Linked DNA regions of Homo sapiens: region 2 is linked to region 1. The links are contacts of gene promoters, found by promoter capture Hi-C in blood cells and fetal thymus (Javierre and others, 2016). All regions are on one chromosome and are shown on one strand. The core of a region is centred on a gene start or on the middle of the fragment in contact, and the rest is flanking DNA. Distances in the headings are between cores, read along the strand shown.

Region 1 (6,379 bases), core at 655-3,154:
AGATCTTTTTATTTTATTTTTTGAGATGGAGTCTTGCTCTGTCGCCCACCCTGGAGCATAGTGGCACAATCTCAGCTCACTGCAACCTCCACCTTCCCGGTTCAAGCGATTCTCCTGCCTCAGCCTCCCAGGTAGCTGGGACTACAGGCGCATGCCACCAAGCCCGGCTAATTTTTGTAGTTTTAGTAGTGAGAGAGTTTCACCACGTTGGCCAGGCTGGCCTTGAACTCCTGATCTCAGGTGATCCACCCACCTCAGCCTCCCAAAGCGCTGGGATTACAGGTATGAGAAACCACGGCCAGCCTCTGGGAGATCTTTCTTTTGCCCAGGCACCACCCCTCACTAGTTCCAGGTCAGGTACTCACCGCTGGCCATGGAGGGCCGCTGAGACTGCAGGCGAACCTTCACCACGTCCAGGGGTGTCACTGGGGGAGGAAGCGGGTCTGAAGGCTCCTTTCAGGACCCCACCCCTAGGACTCCTCCCCCAGGACCACACAGCCTCCAATCTCCGGTCTGCCCCATCCCCACCCGCCCCCACCCCACCTCCCCTAGGTCTTACTGAAGAGAGAGGTAACCACAGCCCCGGTGCCTGAGGCCACCATTTGCTGGAGGGGGCTGATGCCCGCAGGGTCCTGGTCAGCCATCTTGAAGCTTCAGTCCTGAAAACCAAACCTCAAACAGACCACAACTCCAGGGATGGCAGGAAAGGAGGCTGGGCCACTGTGAGACTTTTGTTTTGAGACGGCGTCTCGCTCTGCGCACTGTTGCCAGGCTGGAGTGCAGTGGCACCATCTTGGCTCACTGCAACATCCACCCCCGTTCAAGCGGTTCTCTTGCTTCAGCCTCCCAAGTAGCTGGGACTACAGGCGCGCACCACCACGCCTAGTTAATTTTTGCATTTTTAGTAGAGACAGGGTTTCACCATGTTGGCCAAGATGATCTCGATCTCCTGACCTCGTGATCCGCCCGCCTCAGCCTCCCAAAGCACTGGGATTACAGGCGTGAGCCACCGCACCCGGCCCACTGTGAGACTTTAACCCAACCCTCATCCACCGCCCTCGAAACATCTGTTGCCTCAACAACCCTGGCAATGACCTCTAAAGCAGGGACTGTCCGCCCCCCTCCGCCGGGGAAAACTAAGGCTCGGGGAGACGAGGTGGCCTGCCCAAGGTCACTCAGGAGTGGTTCCGAAGGAAGCTAGGGTGCCAGACCTATCGCTCGAATGCAGTAGGAGCCAGGGTCCTTCCCTCGTCCACCTCGCACGTGTCCACTGCGCACCTCCTACGTGCAGGCGCGGATTTGGCCCTCGTGGCCCCAAAATCAGAGTACCTGTGCTGCCCCCACAGCCCCCACTCCAGCACCAAGGCCCCGGGCAGGCACCTGAGAGCCCAAGTTACTGGGCGTGGAGGGACGGCCGGGCATCGAGGGTGACGTGTAAACAGATCCGGTGACCAAGAAGGGCCCGTCGCCTCCTCAGGACTGCGGGCTGGGATGCCCGGCCCTCCCCGCCCGGCCGGACGGGCCAGACCCGGGGCCCGGAGAGAAAGAGCAGTCTCTGGGTTCCCGCCCCAAAATGCAGGCCCGGGGCGCAGCCGGGAGAGCGGGAAGTAGGAACGTAGGACCAGGACGTCTCCCCGACCCTCGGCGACACTCCCGGCCCCGAACGGCGGAGAGCCGCCAGGTGAGGGGGACCACGCCAGCTCGACGGCCCCAGCACCTGCCCTGGCTCGCACGGCCGCCCGGAGACCCCCGCTTCCGTCTCCGCCCCCAGCCCCGGCCCAGTGCCGCCTACCTGGCTCTAGGCTGGTGCTCGTGCGGCGCGGCGCCCAGGGTCAGGCGGGCCCATACCGGCTCCGCCGCCTGTGCGCGGTCCGCGCGCGCTCGCAGCGCACCTAGGCCGACGCCGAAAGCAGCCAAGGGGGCCCCGCCCCTACACCGCGCCACGAGGCCCCGCCCGCCGCGGGCCGACCAGCCGCAAGCCCGGAGTGTCCCCGGCTCCGCCCACTCGCGTCTCCGCCCGGACCTGCGACGGTCCCGCCCCCTTGACGGGGCCGCGCGGGCGAGTTCCATGCCTGTCCAGCGCTGAGAGCTGCCGGCCAACTTCGCGGTCTCCACGTCGCGCTTAACGTGGCAGCAGCACGCACTTCCAGCATCTTTTTTTAGACAGCATCTTTTTCAGCCTCGCTCTGTCGCCGAGGCTGGAGGGCAGTGGCGCGATCTAGGCTCACTGCAGCCTTGACCTCCCGGGTTCAAGCGATCCTCCTGCCTCAGCCTCCGGAGTAGCTGGGACCACAGGCGCGCGCCGCCACGCCCGGCTGGTTTGTTACTTTTATTTTTGTCTCCCTATTTTGCCCAGGCTAGTCTGGAACTCCTGGGCTCAAGCGATCCGCCCACCTCGGTCTTCGAAAGTGCTGGGATTCCAGGCGTGAGCCGCCGCGCCGGCCTTAACAGCGCATTTTCACCAGCCCCGCCCCGGCCGCGCGCGGCACTGGAAACCCCAGCGCCTTCTGGACGGCGAGGGTGACGCACTGGCCCTCTTCCTCGGTGTCCTCAGGTGCGTGGCGGCGGCAGTGAGAATGAGTTCTTCGAGATCGCCGGGAGACCACACAATAACGACGAAGTTACTTGCCGGGCTACCCGCCGAGACTTGAAAACTTCGCGGCGACTTCTCTCGCCGGCCTTAGCATCGCCCCCATTTTTCAGGTTACAGGACAGGCCTGCAACTGCAAAACGCTTTGTAAACCACAGGGCCCCGCGCGGGTGTGCGCCACTGGGTTAGCTGAGCTGCAGCCCGGGCCGGGCGGGCTGGGACGTGAGCAAGCCGGGGGAGACGGGAGAGCCATGGGGAGCCAGATCCCACCTTCGCGTGACCTTGGGCAAATCACAACCTCGCCTAAGGCCCGGAATGACTCTGCGCGGAGAGGAAGAGCACTGAGTGCGGGAGGGCATCGACGTTTTGGTGTTGGTTGCTCTCGTATCGTGATTTCTTCTGAGTCTCAAAACTCTTTGCAGTAGGTTATTGTTGAAATAGATTACCACAGGCCGGGCGCGGTGGCTCACGCCTGTAATCCAGCACTTTAGGAGGCCGAGGCGGGCGGATCACTTGAAGTCAGGAGTTCGAGACCAGCCTGGCCAACATGGTGAAACCCCGTCTCTACTAAAAATACAAAAGTAGCCGGGCATGATGGCTGGCGCCTGTAATCCCAGCTACTCGGGAGGCTGAGGCAGGAGAATCGCTTGAACCCGGCCGGCGGAGGTTGCAGTGAGCCGAGATCGCACCACTGCATTCCAGCCTGGGCAACAGAGTAACACTCCGTCTCAAAAAAAAAGGCCGGGCGCAGTGGCTTACGCCTGTAATCCCAGCCTTTTTGGAGGCCGAGGCGGGCGGATCACCAGAGGTCAGGAGTTCGAGAGCAGCCTGACCAACATGGTGAAACCTCGTCTCTACTAAAAATACAAAAAATTAGCCGGGCGTGGTGGCGCATGCCAGTAATCCCAGCCACTCGAGAGGCTGAGGCAGGAGAATCGCTTAAACCCGGAAGGCGGAGGTTGCGGTGAGCCGAGACTGCGCCATTGCACTCCAGCCTGGGCAACAAGAGCGAAACTCCGTCTGAAAAAGAAATAGATTACCCCGTTTTACAGAAAGTGAAACTGAGGCTCGACGTGAAGAGCCGGAGATTCGAACCGGCCGGGTGCTTTTCCCAGGGCTCCACACTGCCTCCCCGGGAGACAGGAAGGCTTAAGTCCAGCGCTGCCCTCTCCGATCCCGCTTGTCAGGGAGACACTTTATTTCCCGGGGCAGCCCCGTACCCCAGGCCCCACCACCCACTTCGCGTTTAGAACTTCTGTGCTATCTTGCTTATTTGTCCTAACAGAGAAACCAGCACGCGCGGGCGGTGGCGGAGGGGGGCGGGCGGGCGGGTGGAGGCGGGGGGGGGCGGGCGGGGAGATGGGTACTCCTAGCCTGCGCCTTTAAGAAGGGTAGGCCTCGACTTTGACGTCTCTGCCTTCCCCGCCCTTCAGGCCCCCACTGGTCGCGTCCGGCGCTGGAGGAGCCCAGTCAGCCGGCGCCTGCCGGGTTAGCACGTGGACTCCGAGGGGCCAACTATCAGCTTTCCCTGACAAAATGCCTTTGAGCTCCCCCACAGCTCTGAAACTCCAGCTTGGGAGCAGGGAGAGTGCAATCTGTGACCTGTAAAGGGGCGCTGGGCAAAAGGGCCCGAGAGAAGGCGTCCTTTCCATTCCCTTCCCATCTCAAGCTGAGTTCAGAAATGACACGAAATAATTTAATCAACTATCAGTCAAGGTCGGGCTCACGCCTGTAATCCCAGCAGTTTGGGAGGCCGAGGTGGGCGGATCACCTGAGGACAGGAGTTCGAGACCAGCCTGACCAACATGACGAAGCCCCGTCTCTACTAAAAATACAAAAATTAGCCAGCGGTGGTGGTGCGCACCTGTAGTCTCAGCTACTTGGGAGGCTGAGGCCAGAGAATCGCTTGAGCCCGCGAGGTCGAGGCTGCAGTGAGCCGAGATCACACCACTGCACTCCAACCTGGATGACAGAGGGAGACTCTGTCTCAAAAAATAATAAATAAATAAATAAATAAATAAACTATCGGTCAAGGTGAAAGCCTACTCTCCGCCAAGGTTCTTTACAACTTAGACGTTTTGGTTTACGGAACAGGGGAGGAAACTGAGGGCTCTTGTGTGTAGTGACTTTACTCGTGTGGAGGAGAACCCAGACTTTCCCTGCACACACTCTCCCGTTTTATGGATGAGAAAAGGGGGGCCCCAAAGGTCAAATCGCCCCAAGGTCACTCAAATGAAAGAGTCAGCATTAGACCCCCCAACGTGCCTGAGCCAGATGGGCTCCCACCCTGTCCAGTTCTCAACCCAGGTGCTGTGTTCCAGCAGCACCCTGACCTGGCTTTCCATCTCACCTGCCTCTTACAAGCAAGTGTCTTAAGGCCTCTAAGCCTTAGTTTCCCCATTTACAAAATGGGCTGATGGTGATGATAACGCACCTTCCTCTAGGGATTATGTAAGGATTTAATGCATTAATGGCTGTGACGTGCTTAGAACCCTGGCAAGTGGCAAGCATTCTATGACAACTACTACTATTGCTGTTACTGTATTGTTGTTAATTGCTCTCTAGAACCTGTGGCATGGAAAGTTCCCCAGATTCTGGCCCCACCTCTGCCTCCAGTATGCAGTGATGGATAATAATAACTTCTTATACCCAGAACGAAGGTCACCAGTGCAAAGTAGCACAGCCAGGAATCAAACCTGGGGACCTCTGAGCCTGTTTCCCCAACAGTACATTGAGGGCCTTGCACTCCATTTCTGGTTTTCTTTTTGTGATGCTCTTAAATAGGATCCTTAGAGATTTGTGGATACACCTGTTTCCTCATCTGAAAATAAGGACGATATCACCTGCTCTGCCTAACGTACAGATTCTTAATATCATGTCTCTGAAAGCTACATGAAGAGTCAATAAACAGTTCTGTGAGACCTGCCAGGGGCCCAGAGCCGCGTGGATCACAGTCCTTACCTTCTCCAGAATGTAAATGCTTTGAAGCTTAGAGAACCATGAGGCCTCATGGGTGTGACCAAAGCAGTGGCCGCTGGAGAGGTTATCCATGGGTGATGGGACACCTCGGGACCTCGTGAAGTCTCTCCCAAGAATGACCGTGGCAGTTCAGGGTGGAGGAGGAGCTTTGACATGCTCCAGAAGCTATGGAGCCCTGACTCAACACGCCCACCCTCGAGGAGCAAGCCTGGAAGGCTGCAGAGGTGGCCACTGGCCTGGCTGACTCAGGCAAGGTTTACATTGGTTATGCACCCAGTGGTCCTTCCAGAGGCAACATGTGGCCCCATGTGGCCATCTGCAGCTTCCTCGCACAGATGGAAAAGCAGAAACTCTCCCTTTTTAACTGTAAAAGGGGAGAAGAAAGTACCAGCTGCAGGGGTGGTTGTGGAGACTGAAGGACCAGTCCTCACCTGATACCCAAGGGGCCAGTTTATTACAAGGCTGAATTTGTCCAAGGCAAGCCCTGGGACAGGGGCAGTGTCCCCTCCAGCTTGAACCCCCAGGGCCTAGGAAGACATCTCTGGGGCTGATGGAGGACTCAAGGGCTTCACCCATGGATGGGACCCCACCAGCACCTCTGAGTCCAGGGCCAGCACTGTCTGCATCTAGAGTAGTCTCCCAAAGCAGGGCCCAGGGCTGCAGAACCACTGAGGCCCCCTACTGCCCAGAGGAAAAGTCCAAATCCCAGGCCCATAGCAAATGTAGTCTGATCTTTTTTTTTTTTTTTTTTTTTTTTTTGAGACGGAGTCTCGCTCTGTCGCCCAGGCTGGACTGCAGACTGCAGTGGCG
Region 2 (5,811 bases), core at 2,266-4,765, 280 kb before region 1:
AAACCCCGTCTCTACTAAAAATACAAAAATTAGATGGGTGTGGTGGTGTGCACCTGTAATCCCGCCTACTCAGGAGGCTGAGACAGGAGAATCGCTTGAACACGGGAGGCAGAGACTGCAGTGAGCCGAGATTGTACCACTACACTCCAGCCTGGGCGACAGAGCAAGACTCCGTCTCAAAAAAAAAATGGGGGAGCCATACCTACAGCATATTCCAAAAGTACCTTAATGCTTGGAATCTTCAAACATTTATATTCTGCTTTTACAGTGATCCATCAAACCATAAACTAAGCATAGCTTTTTTTCTTGGGATTGAGTTTCACTCTTGTTGCCCAGGCTGGAGTACAATGGCACGATCTCAGCTCACTGCAACCTCCGCCTCCTGGGTTCAAGCGATTCTCCTGTCTCAGCCTCCAGAGTAGCTGGGATTACAGGTGCCCGCCACCACCCCCAGCTAATTTTTTTTTTTTTTTTGAGACGGAGTCTCGCTCTGTCGCCCAGGCTGGAGTGCAGTGGCGCAAGCTCTGCTCACTGCAAGCTCCACCTCCCAGGTTCACGTCATTCTCCTGCCTCAGCCTCCCGAGTAGCTGGGACTACAGGCGCCTGCCACCACGCCCAGCTAATTTTTTTGTAGTTTTTTAGTAGAGATGGGGTTTCACTGTGTTAGCCAGGATGGTCTCGATCTCCTGACCTCGTGATCCACCCACCTGGGCCTCCCAAAGTGCTAGGATTACAGGCGTGAGCTACCACACCTGGCCATTTTTTTGTATTTTTAGTAGAGACAGGATTTCACCATGTTGGCCAGGCCGGTCTTGAACTCCTGAGCTCAGGTGATCCACCCACCTCAGCCTCCCAAAGTGCTGGTATTACAGGCGTGAGCCACCACGCCTGGCTCCAAGCATAGTTTTATAGCAGAGGAAGTAAACCAAGTGTCTAATTCTTTGTTTATAAAATTAAGCACTTTCTCAAGGCTTAGGTTTGACTATGAAAAAAAAGGAGGCCTTCAATTGCCATGGGTATTCTTGTCCTTGCAAGTTTCAAAGACTGTCTTAGGAAGGAGGAGCAGGCGTGAGCACAGAAGGCCAGCTCACGCTGTCATTTCAGCCTCCCCGGGTAAGAGAGGGAAGAATGGCAAAACCCTGCAGTGATCTGAAGCCAGAGCTCCTTTTTCACAGGATCTCTAGGACATGGAGAGAGACAAATACAGCAGCAATATATATATAATCTTTCAAGACTGGCTGCCATTCTGGCCCTACCAGGCTATAACTTTACAGACAAATAAACACACAGGCTGACAGCATTCCAAGCAGTGGCAATCCCAACTGTAACAAGAAAGCCTTGTAGTTTCTATGGAAAGAGCTGCTGATGATGTATTTTAAGCAGCAACAAGCAACGCTTACTCAAGCACCAAAAAAACCCCGGTAACAAGGAGGAGTTTCCTTTTTTTTTTTTTTTTTGAGATGGAGTCTTGCTCTGTGGCCCAGGCTGGTGCAGTGGTGCAATCTCAGCTCACTGCAACCTAAGGAGGAGTTTCCTTGAATCTTGCTTTCCAAACAATGCCTTAAGAAAATCTGAAGTCGGCCAGCGCTGTGGCTCACGCCTGTAATCCCAGCATTTTGGGAGGCTGAGGGAGGAAGATCACTTGAGCCCAGTAGTTACAGACCAGCCTGGGCAACATAGTGGGACCCTGCCTCTATTAAAAAAAAAAAAAAAAATCTGAAGTCTTTAAGGAAAGAAGGAAAAACTGGAGGGTGGCAGAGCTCCTGGGAAGCATCTAGTGGACAGGCGGGCATTTACCTTATAAGCAGGCTGGAAGATCTCACTTTGAAACCTCAATCCCCTTTAAAAACGTTTATTCCTGAAAATCCAAATCATCTCCGAATGCTGGGTCAGAGAAAGCTGCTTCTATAAAGCTTGTGTTGACTAGATAGTCTGAACGTTCAAAGAGTAAAATGTCGTTGTCACCTACATAGCAGCTTAAAAACATAACATCACCCCATTTAGTAAGAGACAAGAGTTGGCTCAGGAAACCAGGCATCTATGCAGAATGTTTAAGAATGGAACTGACAAATTAAGCTAGAGAAGGGGAGAAAAAAAAGCTGGAAGAAGAGCCACTTGAATTTTTGCCAGAGAGAAAATAAAATGGATATAAATCTCAGCCAGAAGTGATTCTTTAGACAGGCTGAGTAACAATGACACACTGGTTATAGAACAATGATTTCAAAATACACCCCCCACCCCCGCCAAAATACCAGTTGTGCAAGTGCAATCTCCCCTAAAGTCTCCAAAAGCAAAGGAGAATGGACTAGACAATTCTCTATTTCAATTCTAATGCAAACATCCCAAATGCTAAATGATGTAAGGGAGCACTTAGAAAAGTCAGCAGAAATGACTGTAAGCTGACTGTATATATTTTCAGTTTGCCCCCAATATACTCAACCTACAGTAATGCTTTAGGGATCCGGACTCAGCTACACAGATCTGCTTTTACCAGGAAGCTGTACAAATGGGATAAAATCTCCTAGAGAGGACCCCATCAATTAGGGGTCCCCATCAATGGGGGAGACCGCTCTCAATAAAAGAAACTAGAAGTGTTTCCTTTTTTCAAAATTGAGGGTGGGGAGAAGGAGATTACCTTGCCCTTTTTTGTCATGAAAACTCATGCAGAACATGAATATGCCTTCTTTTGTAAAGCAAACGATTATCACTCTACCCTCAATTTAGCTGCTGTACAAATCTAAATTTTCCCACATATTTTTGCAAATGACTATATACCTATAAATGGCCCAATTATTCCAAGTTAGTAAGTTTATGGTTTTTGCCAAACCACTGGAGAGAACCAATAAAAGCTGCCCTCAGTAGAGAAAGTGTAGAATGTGCCTTTTAGGCTTGGGAGGGCCACCAAGATTACTTTTTAAAATCTATTTCTTTTTTTTTGAGACAAAGTCTTGCTCTGTCGCCCAGGCTGGAGTGCAGTGGTGCGATCTCAGCTCACTGCAACCTCCGCCTCCCAGGTTCAAGGGATTCTCCTGCCTCAGCCTCCCAAGTAGCTGGGATTACAGGTGCCCACCACCACGCCTGGCTAATTTTTGTATTTTTAGTAGAGACAGGGGTTCACCATGTTGGTCAGGCTGGTCTCGAACTCCTGACCTCGTGATCTGCCCGCCTCAGCCTCCCAAAGTGCTGGGATTACAAGCGTAAGCCACCATGCCTGGCCTTAAATCTATTTCTATAGTTTTTCCTTTACTAGATATTTCATATAAATGGAATGATACAATGTGTTGACTTACGTCTCTGGCTTCTTCCACTTAGCACATTTCTGAGGTTCATCCATTTTGTTTCATGTACCAATAGTTTTTTAAATTGCTAGGAAGCATTCCACTATGAGGATACAGTTCTACCTTTTATATATTCATTCACTAGTTGATGGACAGTTGATCAAAATCTGAATTGTTTCCAGTTTTGTTTTTTGTGTTTTCTGAAACAGAGTCTCACTCTATCACCCAGGCTGGAATGTAATGGCACAATCTCAGCCCACTGCAACCTCCACCCACTGGGCTCAAGCAATCCTCCCACTTCAGCTTCCCAAGTAGCTGGGACCACAGAAGCACACCACCACGCCCAGCTAAGGTGTTGTATTTTTTTGTAGAGACAGGGTTTCACCGTATTGCCCAGGATAGTCTTGAACTCCTGAGCTCAAACGATCCACCCACCTTGGCCTCCTAAGGTGCTGGGATTACAGGCATGAGCCACCCTACCCGGCTGTTTCCAGTTTTTGGCAGCAGTCACACACAAGTCTTTGTGTATGTAAAAGTAAAAATATTTTACTTTTTTTTTTTTTTTTTTGAGACGGAGTCTCGCTCTGTCTCCCAGGTTGGAGTGCAGTGGCGCGATCTTGGCTCACTGCAAGCTCCGCCTCCTGGGTTCACGCCATTCTCCTGCCTCAGCCTCCCGAGTAGCTGGGACTACAGGCGCCCGCCACCACGCCCGGATAATTTTTGTATTTTTAGTAGAGACAGGGTTTCACCCTGTTAGCCAGGATGGTCTTGATCTCCTGACCTCATGATCCGCCCGCCTCGGCCTCCCAAAGTGCTGGGATTACAGGTGTGAGTCACCATGCCCAGCCAACGTTTTACTTTTTAAAAGTAAAAAGATTTTGCTTTTTAAAAGTAAAAAGTCTCTGTGTGTGGACATGTTTTTACTTTTGTTAGGTAGATAACTAAGAGTAGAATTTCTGGGTCATATGGTAAGTGTATGTTTAATTTTTAAAGTAATTGTTTTCCTGCTAGTGAAGTTTCCTTAAAAACAAAACAAAATGGCCGGGTGCAGTGGCTCACGCCTGCAATCCCAGCACTTTGGGAGGCCGAGGCGGATGGATCACGGGGTCAGGAGATCGAGACCATCCTGGCTAACACGGTGAAACCCCGTCTCTACTAAAAATGCAAAAAATCAGCCGGGGATGGTGGCGGGCGCCTGTAGTCCTAGCTACTCGGGAGGCTGAGGCAGGAGAAAGGCGTGAACTCAGGAGGCGGAGCTTGCAGTGAGCTGAGATTAATGCGCCACTGCACTCCAGCCTGGGCAACAGAGCCAGACTCCGTCTCAAAAAAAAAAAAAAAAAAGGAACTGTCAAACTGTTTTCTTTTTTTTTTTCTTTTTTTTTTTTTTTTGCTGGAGTGCAATGGCGCGATCTTGGCTCACTGCAACCTCCGCCTCTGGGGTTCAAGTGATTCTCCTGCCTCAGTCTCCCGAGTAGCTGGGATTACAGGCGCCCGCCACCACGCCTGGCTAATTTTTTGTATTTTTAGTAGAGATGGGGTTTCACTATGTTGGCCAGGCTGGTCTCGAACTCCTGACCTCGTGATCCACCCGCCTCGACCTCCCAAAGTGCTGGGATTACAGGCGTAAGCCACAGCGCCCGGCCCTAATGTTTGATAGTTCTAAATCTGCCACCTACTCACCAACACTGGGTACTGTTAGCCTTTCTGATCTCAGCCATTTTAGCAGAAGTATAGCAGTTTCACACTGTGGTTTTCACTTGTACTTCCCTTTATGTCTAATGATATCAAGCATCTTATGTGCTTATTTGTAATTACTGTATCTTCTCTGATACAGTATTCAAAGCTTTTGCCCATTTTTAATTGGACTGTCTTTTTTTTGAGATGGAGTCTTGCTCTGTCACCCAGACTGGAGTGCAGTGGCACCATCTCAGCTCACCACAACCTCTGCCTCCCAGGTTCAAGCAATTCTCCTGCCTCAGCCTCCAGAGTAGCTAGGACTACAGGCCCACACCACCACGCCCAGCTAATTTTTGTATTTTTAGTAAAGACAGGGTTTCACCACGTTGGCCAGGCTGGTCTCAAACTCCTGACCTCAGGTGATTCACCTGCCTCGGCCTCCCAAAGTGCTGGGATTACAGGCATGAGCCACCATGCCCAGCCTGGATTGTCTTATTATCATTATTATTTTCTTTTTTGAGATAGGTCTTGCTCTGTTGCCCAGGCTGGAGTGTACTGGCATAATCATGGCTCACTGCAGCCTTGACCTCCTTGGCTAAAGCAATCCTCCCACCTCAGCCTCCCAAGCATCTGGAACCACAAGCAAGGACCACTATGCCTGGCAGGTTTGTTTGTTCTGTTTTTTTTTTTTTAATTTTATGTAGCGATGGGGTCTCCCTGTGTTCCCTAGGCTAGTCTCAAACTCCTGATCTCAAATCATCCTCCCACCTCAGCCTCCCAAAGTGCTGGAATTACAAGCATAAACCACCAAGCCCGGGCTGCCTTATTAAGAGTTCTTGGCTGGGCGTGGTCACTC

Evidence for each region. The method cuts DNA at HindIII sites, captures the fragments that hold promoters and counts their contacts. A CHiCAGO score of 5 or more calls a contact.
Region 2: a contact is called between a fragment that was not itself captured here and the fragment with the promoter of SLC25A39 in region 1, in 1 of 17 cell types (naive CD8 T cells). The highest score is 5.6, in naive CD8 T cells.

The regions. Positions count from the first base shown.
Region 1 is chr17:44,322,919-44,329,297 of GRCh38, forward strand. SLC25A39 (solute carrier family 25 member 39) reads right to left here and starts at 1,905. Exons shown (of 12, transcript NM_001143780.3): 1 at 1,793-1,905; 2 at 560-659; 3 at 366-425. The coding sequence starts at 644. It overlaps LOC124904009 (a long non-coding RNA gene), which reads left to right and starts at 2,535. Exons shown (of 2, transcript XR_007065768.1): 1 at 2,535-2,703; 2 at 4,024-4,630. RefSeq lists silencers at 1,448-1,667, 1,688-2,117, enhancers at 2,218-2,407, 2,568-2,647, 2,698-2,757, 2,828-3,679, 2,938-2,987 and 1 more and a cis regulatory region at 3,652-4,329. The HindIII fragment of the contact is 4,927 bases long and covers 650-5,576 here.
Region 2 is chr17:44,042,109-44,047,919 of GRCh38, forward strand. All of the region lies in intron 2 of LSM12 (LSM12 homolog), which reads right to left. Among named protein-coding and RNA genes, the nearest start is that of LSM12, 22 kb to the right of the region's middle. The HindIII fragment of the contact is 3,208 bases long and covers 1,912-5,119 here.